3 separate regions of the Homo sapiens genome follow, and regions 1 and 2 are each linked to region 3. Evidence: promoter capture Hi-C in 16 types of primary human blood cells and fetal thymus (Javierre and others, 2016). All regions are on one chromosome and are shown on one strand. The core of a region is centred on a gene start or on the middle of the fragment in contact, and the rest is flanking DNA. Distances in the headings are between cores, read along the strand shown.

Region 1 (3,486 bases), core at 519-3,018, 210 kb before region 3:
CAGCTACTCGGGAGGCAGAGGCAGGAGAATTGCTTGAACCCGGGAGGTAGAGGTTGCAGTGAGTTGAGACTGCGCCATTGTACTCCAGCCTGGGCAACAGAGCGAGACTCTGTCTCAAAATAAATAAATAAATAAATAAATAAATGAAAAAATAAAGGAGCTCTACGTGAGTAAGCAGTGGATGCAAGCAGAGGCTTTCTCTAAGGCTCCTTATCAACCTAAAGATGGGTCTAGGAAAGATCCTATCAGAGGAAAAGAGACTCACAGGCAACCGCCCAGATAGATTGCCACAGACCATCACCTGTTCTGCTGAGGGCAGTTCCAAAATTACCTGAGAGCCGTTATCTGCAGCTTTTCACTCCCTGTGCACTCATGCCTCCCTCACCTCCCCATAGCTTGTCACCCCTCCCTGCAGAACCTCCAAACCCGCTTCCGATGCTATAAAAACTTCAATCATCTAGGCCGGGAGCGGTGGCTCACACCTGTAATCCCAGCACTTTGGGAGGCCGAGGCGGGCGGATCACGAGGTCAGGAGATTGAGACCATCCTGGCTAACACGGTGAAACCCCGTCTCTACTAAAAATACAAAAAGTTAGCGGGGTGTGGTGGCGGGCGCCTGTAGTCCCAGCTACTTGGGAGGCTGAGGCAGGAGAATGGCCAGAACCCGGGAGGCGGAGCTTGCAGTGAGCCGAGATTGCACCACTGCACTCCAGCCTGGGTGACAGAGCGAGACTCCTTCTCAAAAAAAAAAAAAAAAAAACTTCAATCATCTGACCCTTTTGCAAGATTTTTTTTTTTTTTTTGAGACAGAGTCTTGCTCTGTCGCCCAGGCTGGAGTGCCTTGGTGTGATCTCGGCTCACTGCACCCTCTGCTTTCTGGGCTCAAGTGATCCTCCCGCCTCAGCCTCAGGAGGAGCTGGGACTACAGGTGCCCACCACCATGCCCTGCTAGTTTTTGTGGAGATGGGATTTTGCCATGTTGCCCAGGCTGGTCTCAAACTCCTGGGCTCAAGCCATCTGCCCACCTTGTCCTCCCAAAATGTCGGGATTACACGCGTGAGCCATCGCCTCCGGCCTGGGATTAGGATTTGGACGTATCTTTTTAGAGGCCACCATTCAACTCACTACATGTGGGAAATGGTTTCTTCTAATCCTAAACCTTCTCCCTCTCCTGCATGTACACTTTTTCATCCTTGTCTTTCTGTCCTGGGAAAAAGTAACCATCTCTATTCCTTCTCATAGAGGATTTTGGGGATTCACGTGGGGTTACTCCTCACACTAGGTGCTTTTCAAGATAGAGGGCTAACTACCGAGAGTGGGTATTTATCTAGAGAGATAGAGGCTTTTGGAGCAGGAGCACCCTAGGTAGTGGTGGATGGGGCAGGGCCCAGCTCCATCCTGCTGAGCACCCCCGAGAGGGTAACCTATTTGCAAAGCTTTTACTCGTCTCTAAACCACTTTTGCTAAAACGTCTATTTTTAGCCTCACAACTTCTCTGAAGTTGGAGTAACTAACCTCATTTTTACAGAAGAAACAGACTGAAGGGTTGGGGGCAGGGCTGCATTTCAGGGCCCCCAGAAGGGGAGGCTGAGCCCCCCACCCCGGCCCCAAGGACAGAATTTCCAGGGCAGGGCTGGGAGAATAAGGCCTCGCTTTCTGGAGTTTTGCGCCTCCCTCTTCTGGGGCTCTGCCTCTGCCTGCCCCTCAACCTCAACCGTTATCTTCAGGGTTTTTGTTTGTTTGTTTGTTGTTTCTTTGAGACAGAGGCTCGCTCTGTCATCCAGGCTGGAGTGCAGTGGCGCGATCGTGGCTCACTGCAACCTCTGCCTCCCGGGTTCAAGCGATTCTTGTGCCTCAGCCTCCCGAGTAGCTGGGATTACAGGCACCCACCAGTATGCTTGGCTAATTTTTTTGAATTTGTTTTTATTTTTAGTGGAGACGAGGGCTCACTATGTTTCCTAGGCTAGTCTTGAACTCCTCAGTGTAGACAATCCTCCTGCCTCATCCTCCCAAAGTGCTAGGATTACAGGTGGGAGCCACCGTGCCCGACCTCCTTTCTTTCTTTCTTTCATTGCTCAAGTTGTTCTAGCTTTGGCCACTGGAAGCTTTTTCAGTTCATCGCTGTGACCCCCGAGATATGCACCCATCATTGTGGTGTTTTGTTTGGAAGCACTTCTTTTCTTTCTGGAACTTTAAGATGCTCCAGTTTCATCTGTCCGTTTCTTGCCCTCATCCTAGAATTGCCAGTTTCCCCAGGGAGCCCTGGTTCCTTTTGTGGAGGAAAATGGTATCAGAAACCAAGATCCAAGCCAGGCACGGTGGCTCACACCTGTAATCCCAGCACTTTGGGAGGCCAAGGCAGGTGGATCACCTGAGGTCAGGAGTTCAAGACCAGCCTGACCAACATGGTAAAACCTCATCTCTCCTAAAAATACAAAAATTAGCTAGGCGTGGTGGTGGGCGCCTGTAATCCCAGCTACTTGGGAGGCCGAGGCAGGAGAATCGCTTGACCAGGGAGGCGGAAGTTGTAGTGAGCCGAGACTGTGCCATTGTACTCCAGCCTGGGCAACAAGAGCAAAACTCTGTCTCAAAAAAAGAAAAAAAAAAAGAAACGAAAATCAAGATGCTGGTGTGCTGGTGCATTCTCCTTGCTCCTGGGGTGTTGTTGCTTCTAGGTCTTTCCATTTGACTGAGCAAGGAAATGTACGGGTGTCTATTGCAGGCTTTTTCACATGTGAATCACAGTCCCGCCACTCCCCGGCTCAGCCTGGAACCTTCCCTCTGCTTTTCAGTGCTCTTTTGGTCAAATCCAAATCCTCAGCTGCCCCCTCCCGCATCCTCCTTGCTATCTGCACCCAACTTGGGCCTCCCTGCCTCCAGCATGCCACCACTGCCCAGGGCCTTTGCACCATTTCTTCCCAAAGCCTGCGATGCTCTGGCCTTCGAGACCCACGCGGCTTCTCCTCCGTCAGTTCATCCAGGTCCGTGCTCAGCTCCAGTGTCCTGACCTCAAGGAGGCCTTCCTAGTTCTGTAGTCCCCCTTCCCCTGTCTCTCCCCTCCTATCTTACATTTTTCGGCAGCACAACACTGTATCTTATTTTTATTCTTCTTAGTTTCTCTTCCTTACTGAGTATAAACTCCAGGGGGTTGCGGGGGCGGCAGGCCTGGGGCTTGTCCAGTGCTGCATCTCCAGAGCCCAACTGTATCAGGCACAGCTTGCTGCAAGATACACACTTGCTGGATGAATCAGTGTTGCAAAGCCCGGGTCACCTCCAGTGTATGGAGGGCATGAGGTTGAATCCAGGTGCCTGACCCCAAACTCTGCTGCTTCCCCACTTCCTCCACCACCTCTTGAACTTTGTATCAGAAGCAGGACTAGGGATTCATTGAACCCTCCCCCAGCCCTGGGTCAGAGGGTACATTATTGTTCCCTTGTGCCAGATGGGGAAACTGAGGCAGAAGTGACTCCTTCAAGGTCACACAGC
Region 2 (3,144 bases), core at 2-2,501, 240 kb before region 3:
TTGCAGCAGGACTTCCCCCTGTCCCCAGTCTCTGCACCTTTCCTGTCTTCCCGGGTTAATAGAAGAATGCCCCCAGAAATGAAATAGCGCATTGTAGCGTTGCAGTGACAGGAGCCCACGTTCACATCATCTTCCTCCCTCCCTCCAGATTACTTCTCTCTTCTGTCGGGGAGCTGCCCCTCCTCCCCACTCCCTTCCCCAGCGCCTTCCGTGGCCGGCTCGGTGGCCTCCAGCTCCGGCTCTCTGCGCCACCGCAGGCCCCTCATCAGCCCTGCCCGGCTCAACCTGAAGGGACAGAAGCTGCTGCTGTTCCCGTCACCCCCTGGAGAGGCCCCCACCACGCCCAGCAGCTCCGATGAGCACTCGCCTCACAACGGCAGCCTCTTCACCATGGAGCCGCCCCATGTTCCCCGGAAGCCGCCCCTGCAGGACGTGAAGCACGCCCTGGGTACGGCCTTCTGACCACCCCAAGGGGCCGTGGGAGGGCCTCTGCTGCCAAGAGGCCTGGCTGTGCGGCGGTGGGGGGGCTCATCCTTGCTCTGACTCCGGTGTGCGCCTTCCCACCCTGGAGCTCTAGGCACCCCATTCCGGCTCTGGTGACTTGAACCCTCTGGGACATTGACCTCTAATGGCTGATTTCAGTTTCTCCTTTTGCAGTTGACCTTCAGGGTCCTCTGTTTCTTGGAACTGATCGAAAACACATCACGCATTGCCAGGTGCGTGTGGCCACAGATAGTTTCACTCAAATGGTGCTGTACTGCAAAGCATTTAAAATGTTTATAGTTAGCCCCCAGCCTTTAAAACCTACAACTTTCAACTTTCACATGAATTTGTAGATTTCCTTTTTTTTTTTTTTTCGAGATGCAGTCTCACTCTGTCGCCCAGGCTGGAGTGCAGTGGCGTGATCTTGGCTCACTGCAACCTCCTCCTCCAGGGTTCAAGAGATTGTCCTGCTTCAGCCTCCCGAGTAGCTGGGACTACAGGTGCGCGCCACCATGCCTGGCTAATTTTTATATTTTTAGTAGAGACGGGATATCACCATGTTTCCCAGGCTGGTCTTGAACTCCTGATCTCAAGTGACCCACCCATCTTGGCTTCCCAAAGTGCTGGGATCACAGGCGTGGGCCACTGCGCCCGGCCTCGAATGTTTAGATTTCCCACGTCTCTTTCAATGTCAGAGATCTGGTCACCTTGGGCCTGAATACTGGCAGACAAGAGGTGGCAGGACAGTTGAGCAAGGACCTGGCCCCCCACTGTCCAGGGTGGATGAGTGGCTTGGGACAGCCTGGCTCACCACTTCTGACAACTGTCCTTAGAGTGGAAGTACAGCTGCCCCGCGTCTGTCCCTGGAGGGAGCCATGAGCGCCACTGAGAAACACACCCTTCTCTCTGCAGACCTGAGATCCAAGCTGGAAAGAGGCAGTGCCTGCAGCAACCGCTCCATCAAGAAAGAGGACGACTCTTCCCAGTCATCTACCTGTGTGGTGGACACCACCACCAGGGGCTGCTCGGAGGAGGCCGCCACCTGGAGAGGTCTGTACCCTGAGGTGCGGGAGGGGAGGGGGTGGGCACACATCCGAAGCCACCATCTCCCCCAGGGGGGTCCAGAGCACTGACAGAAAGAATCTTCCAGGACATTGCAGTCCCTGAGTGGCCGACAAGTAACCCACCCGGCGCCTCTGAATCCAGGGTCAGGGACTCAGTAGACGGCACTCCCCCTCTCGGGATTTGGGCCCCGATCTGCACTATTCCAGTAGCTTCTGGCCCCAGGCAGCTATTTAAATTAACTGAATTAAAATTAAATAAAGTTTGAAATGTAGTTCTTGAGCTGCACTAGCCACATTTCAAGTGCTCAGTAGGCACCTGTGGCCCGTGGCTGGCATTTAGGACACATACCGAAGGCTGCCATCCTGGCCGGAAGTGCCCAGAGAGCCTGGGTGCACCGGGACCACGTCACGCTGGGGCTGCAGCCTGCACCGGGTGCCGAGCTGCCTGGCTCAGATCCCAGGTTCTCTGCTCACTAACCCTGGGGCTCAGGGGCAAGAGACCAGATCTGTGGTACACATCATCACTCCCTGGGTGGGGAGGAGGGGGTGTGTGTTGAGGGAGATGGACAGATCAGCAAGCAGGGCTTTTCCTGGGCAGGTCATTTTGCACTGACTCTCAAAGCCAGTGCTGCCCCAGGCTGGAGGGTGGCCCAGCAGCTTGGAGGCCTTGGTGAGAACGCAGGCTGCGGCATGCAGCAGGTGGACCTGGGTTGGCTGCTTATTCCCTTGGAGGCCTGGATGGGGTGCTCCTGTTCCCAGCCCCCATGACCTCATCTGTAAAGTGGCCATTGTGGTCACTGCCTCATCACCCAGGCCCCAGCTCATGACAGCCCAGCCCATGGCCTTCCTGGCGGCTCAGGGTTAGGAAAAGCTGTGCCTTCAGGGAGGCAGGGAGTGGGGGTCTTTCCTGCTAGGGAAGCCTTTGGCCAAGAGAAGAATTGGGGGTGAGCCTCACCAGTCTCAGAGAGTACCCTGGGCAGAGCCTTGAGCTCCCCACAAACTGCATGCTCTAGGGGGCTGCTCAGCTGCACAGCGAACCCACCCACCCAAACAATGTTCTGACCAGGTCTCTGCTTTGCAGGTCGTTTCGGCCCTTCCCTGGTCCGGGGCCTCCTGGCCGTGAGCTTGGCCGCCAACGCCCTGTTCACCTCGGTGTTTCTGTACCAGAGCCTGCGCTGACCCACCGTTGGAGCCCCTCGGAGGGGAGCAACCCGGTGCCTGCTGCTTCACCACTGCCGGCCTCAGGACCCTCCCTGGAGGGGCTGCCACCTCTGCCCTCATCTCCAGGGCCTTGACCTCACTGGACTGTGACTGTCCTCAGGACACCTGCCCCTCCTCACCTAACGGACTGCAGGGCTGAGCATGTGTCTGAGGTCACACTCTCTGCCCACTCACCTCCTTGGCTGACATCGGTTGTGTTTGGTGCTGACACTCTGATCCCGAAGCCAGGGAGCCCCAAGGGGCTGCATGACCCTGGGGTGCCCCACACAGTTCAGCCCTGCCTGGCAGGGACGCCAGTACTACTGTAACTGCAGCAGGAGCTGCCCGGCCTGCCTTCTGGCCCCACGCCCACAGGCGTAGTCACATCTTTGTACTG
Region 3 (3,219 bases), core at 686-3,185:
AGCACAGCCTCAGGTTAGTCGGTTAGTCTGGGTGCATTTTATCCTTCGGGAAATGAAAAGGGTTGGGTGGCCATGGGCAACCCAGAAGAGGGAGGGAGAGAGATAAAGACAGAGAGAGAGAGAGAGAGAAATGAACCTGCCCTGCCCAAGCAAAGGCGGCACCTGGGTGGTGTCAGGGGTCCCCTGGGGCCAGAGTTCCCCCTACCACCAATGGAAGGGATCATATTCCCTGCTAAAAAGACCCTCTTCAAAGGCTGGGGCCCGCCTGGATTCTCAGTGCTGGTATTCACCTGCAGGGACAGGGAGAAGAAGCGCTTCATTCATTCTCAACTGCCCGCCCCCCAAGGCTGGGAAACACCAAGGGCCACAGCCCTCAGCCTCCCCACCCCAGGCTCGGCCTGGCCCCCTGCTGTCTCCGGCAGCTCTGCCTCCTTCCCCGCAGGCTCAGCCTGGCCCCCTGCTGTCTCTGGCTGCAGCAGTCCCAGCGCTGCCTGTTGGGGTCATTACCCCATCCCGTACCTGGGAAGGTGACCCAGGAGGTTGCCTGCTGTGTGGGCTGACGGACCCCGAAAGACCCAAGGCTGTCCCCAGTGTTTTTCCTTTGCCTGCTGAAGTGTCCCCGACTCATTTACGTGGCCTACTTCCCATGACAGTTTAGGCAGCTTAGACAGGTTAGACAGCGCCAGGAGGACGACCCCGCTTGGCTCCGGTTTCCAAGCTCTCTGCTGGGGGCTGGGCAGGTGGGACCAGGGCCAGCCGGTCAGTCCCTTGAACTACTCAGTGGCTCAGCTTAGAAGAGCTGATTAACTACAAGGCTGACAGTGTCACTCAGAGCGCTGGGCAAGGGGTGGAATCTGCACATAATCTACCTACCACGGACCCTTGGATGTGTGTCTCTATGTAACTTCTGGTTAACACAGCAATCTCTGTCTTTCTCTCAATGACTGCAAACTCCTTTCTGGACAAGAAGTTACAGAAAGAGGCAGATCAACTTAATGTAAGGATAAGCATAGGTTACATGAACATGGTCTGGACTAACTTGTGAGGTAGTGAGCTCCCCAACTCGAGAGAGTATTCAAGCAAAGCCTGGACAAGGTCTTTTCAGAAATGTTTCAGAGGGGCTTGTGCATCTAGCTACTGCGTGGGCTGCTACAAGACCCAGTATCTCCCCCAACACAAAGACTTAATGATGTTGGTTGTGCCATTGTACTCATATTCTGTAAACTCCATAGCCTCTAGGACCCAGTGAAATTCTTTGAAAAGGAAATAGAAGCAGTGAGACTATGTAAACAGAAAAAAAAAAAAAAAGACCCAAAAATGGGATTATGAAGGGTGGAAATGAAAATTTCTAGAAAATGCTTCTGAAGCAAAAATTATTGAAGCAGAAATGATTTCAGCTTCCAAACTTGTACATACAGCTAAAAACCAATATATCTTCCACTTCTGGGATGGTGGAAGGGACAGATATTCTGTTTGGGTGTCTGTAACAAGCATTTTAAAACTGGTGCCATCACATCAGGATGTTGGGGTGCCTAGGATGGCGGGGTCCCCACATCCTTACGGAGTGCTTAGTGTCTTTTCATAGGTGTGGAAGACGAGGTTGCCTCTGAAGCTTACTGATCTCAGTTGAATCTGGAATGATGTTTAGAATCTCCAGGTCAAAAAGAAGGTTCAACCTTCTTAACGACCCTTGAGCTGGGCTGGGTAGATCTAGAAATTCTTCCAAACCCTGAGCTCAACTCAGGTCACAGACACTTATCAAACTTGGTGTTGTCCTTCCTGGCTGCGCCTCCCTGGGAAGGAGGGGCCCCCGCAGCAGCAGAGCCCACGTGATGTGGGGAAATCAGTCAGAGCGCCTGATTCCGAGGGAGAAACCAGCTCAGCTCACACACGAACCTATGAAAATTCTTTATTGTTAATTTCTTTCTCCAACAGATATATTTTTAGTTGAAATATGGAGCCACAGCAACACTTTGACTTTTCCTCTTCAGAAGATGAGACAGGCCGGGGTCATCATTGTTACAAAAGCAAGGCCTGTGATCGTGACAAGGACAGGCTGGGGCAGAGACCACACACTCAACCAGGTATCCACCAGGTGTGGGCCCTTTATAGGAGCTACAAAGAGGGGGCAGCCAGCAATGTGGCCTCGACACCTGACTCCAGGCACTCCGACCTGGAGGAGGGAGATGAAAGAACTCACCTTTCCCCAGGGGCTCAGCCAGACCTCCAGGCCCCTGAGCGGGGAGAGTGCGTGTGTGTGCACATGTGTATGAGTGTGCACACGGGTGTGCTCACTCACACAGCACATGCACACATGCGCTGCCCCTCCTGAGATGCTCTCAGGTCCCTGCCAGGGTAGGGTTGTAGCTGTGTTCCCCACAGCTGACTGTCAGCTAACCAGGGCTAGGGGTGAGTGCATGGTGGAGGACACAGGGTCTTAGCCTGATGCTCGAATCCTCCTTCTGGAACAGGCTGATGGTGCCAGAGCACAGCACGAACCACCTACCCACCATGGGGCTCTCCAGGGCTCGGTCATTTGGCTCCTGTGCACTTCATGACACTCAGGAGCCCCTACGGCCCGAGCCCCAAGCCCCGAGAAAGGGGAAAGATTTGGTTCTGAGAGGGTCCCACTGGCCCTGGGCACCTAGGGGCCTCAGCATCTACCAGCATAGGGGAGGGTGGCGGCCCCCTTCCTGAGGACTGCATCTTTCTCCAGCCGCTCTCCCCAGATCCCACACCTGCCAGTGAGCCAGGGAGATAGGAGGACCACCTCCCTCCCAGGGAAGGGGGTGGCAGGTGGAAGGACTTAGGTTTGGTGCAGGAACACTAGACCTGCCCCTCACCCCCTGCCTCCAGGACTGCCATTCTGAACTGCAATTCTGGGCCTGAGTTTGGCTTAAGGGCCAGTCTGAAGGGACTTGCTTGGTGAAGGCCCAGCCAGCTGTCCCAGTGGCATTTCATAAACAAACGATACTGTCCCTTCCAGGCTGACCTGGAGAGAGACCCTTCCAAAGGCAGTGGAGTGGAGGGCATGGGCCTCCGATGAGAGAACTCCAGAGCTGGCCGGGACCTACTGTGCTGGCAGCAGACAGGTAGGAGCCTGGCTGGGGTAGGTCAGGGGTTGGTGTTTAGCTGGAGGTCTCCTGGGCCTTGTGAGCCAAGCTGGGGCTTTTATGTGGGTTCTGGGCTCCCAGAGACCTCCGCCAGATGACCTCCAGA

Evidence for each region. Contacts are between HindIII fragments. The CHiCAGO score rates a contact against its expected background, and 5 or more counts as called.
Region 1: a fragment that was not itself captured here is called in contact with the fragment with the promoter of CTNNBIP1-AS1 in region 3 in 1 of 17 cell types (fetal thymus); the score reaches 7.0 in fetal thymus.
Region 2: a fragment that was not itself captured here is called in contact with the fragment with the promoter of CTNNBIP1-AS1 in region 3 in 8 of 17 cell types (M0 macrophages, non-activated CD4 T cells, naive CD4 T cells and 5 more); the score reaches 8.2 in M0 macrophages.

The regions. Positions count from the first base shown.
Region 1 is chr1:9,637,991-9,641,476 of GRCh38, forward strand. It overlaps a transcript of PIK3CD not described here. Among named protein-coding and RNA genes, the nearest start is that of PIK3CD, 12 kb to the right of the region's middle. The HindIII fragment of the contact is 669 bases long and covers 1,435-2,103 here.
Region 2 is chr1:9,610,358-9,613,501 of GRCh38, forward strand. It overlaps TMEM201 (transmembrane protein 201), which reads left to right. Exons shown (of 11, transcript NM_001130924.3): 9 at 149-448; 10 at 1,396-1,533; 11 at 2,629-3,144. The coding sequence ends at 2,726. Among named protein-coding and RNA genes, the nearest start is that of TMEM201, 23 kb to the left of the region's middle. RefSeq lists a silencer at 1,363-1,598. The HindIII fragment of the contact is 5,519 bases long and covers 1-3,144 here.
Region 3 is chr1:9,846,383-9,849,601 of GRCh38, forward strand. It overlaps CTNNBIP1-AS1 (CTNNBIP1 antisense RNA 1), which reads left to right and starts at 1,936. Exons shown (of 3, transcript NR_199045.1): 1 at 1,936-2,084; 2 at 2,987-3,092. It overlaps CTNNBIP1 (catenin beta interacting protein 1), which reads right to left. Exons shown (of 6, transcript NM_020248.3): 6 at 1,894-3,219. RefSeq lists an enhancer at 1,935-2,436. The HindIII fragment of the contact is 10,320 bases long and covers 1,611-3,219 here.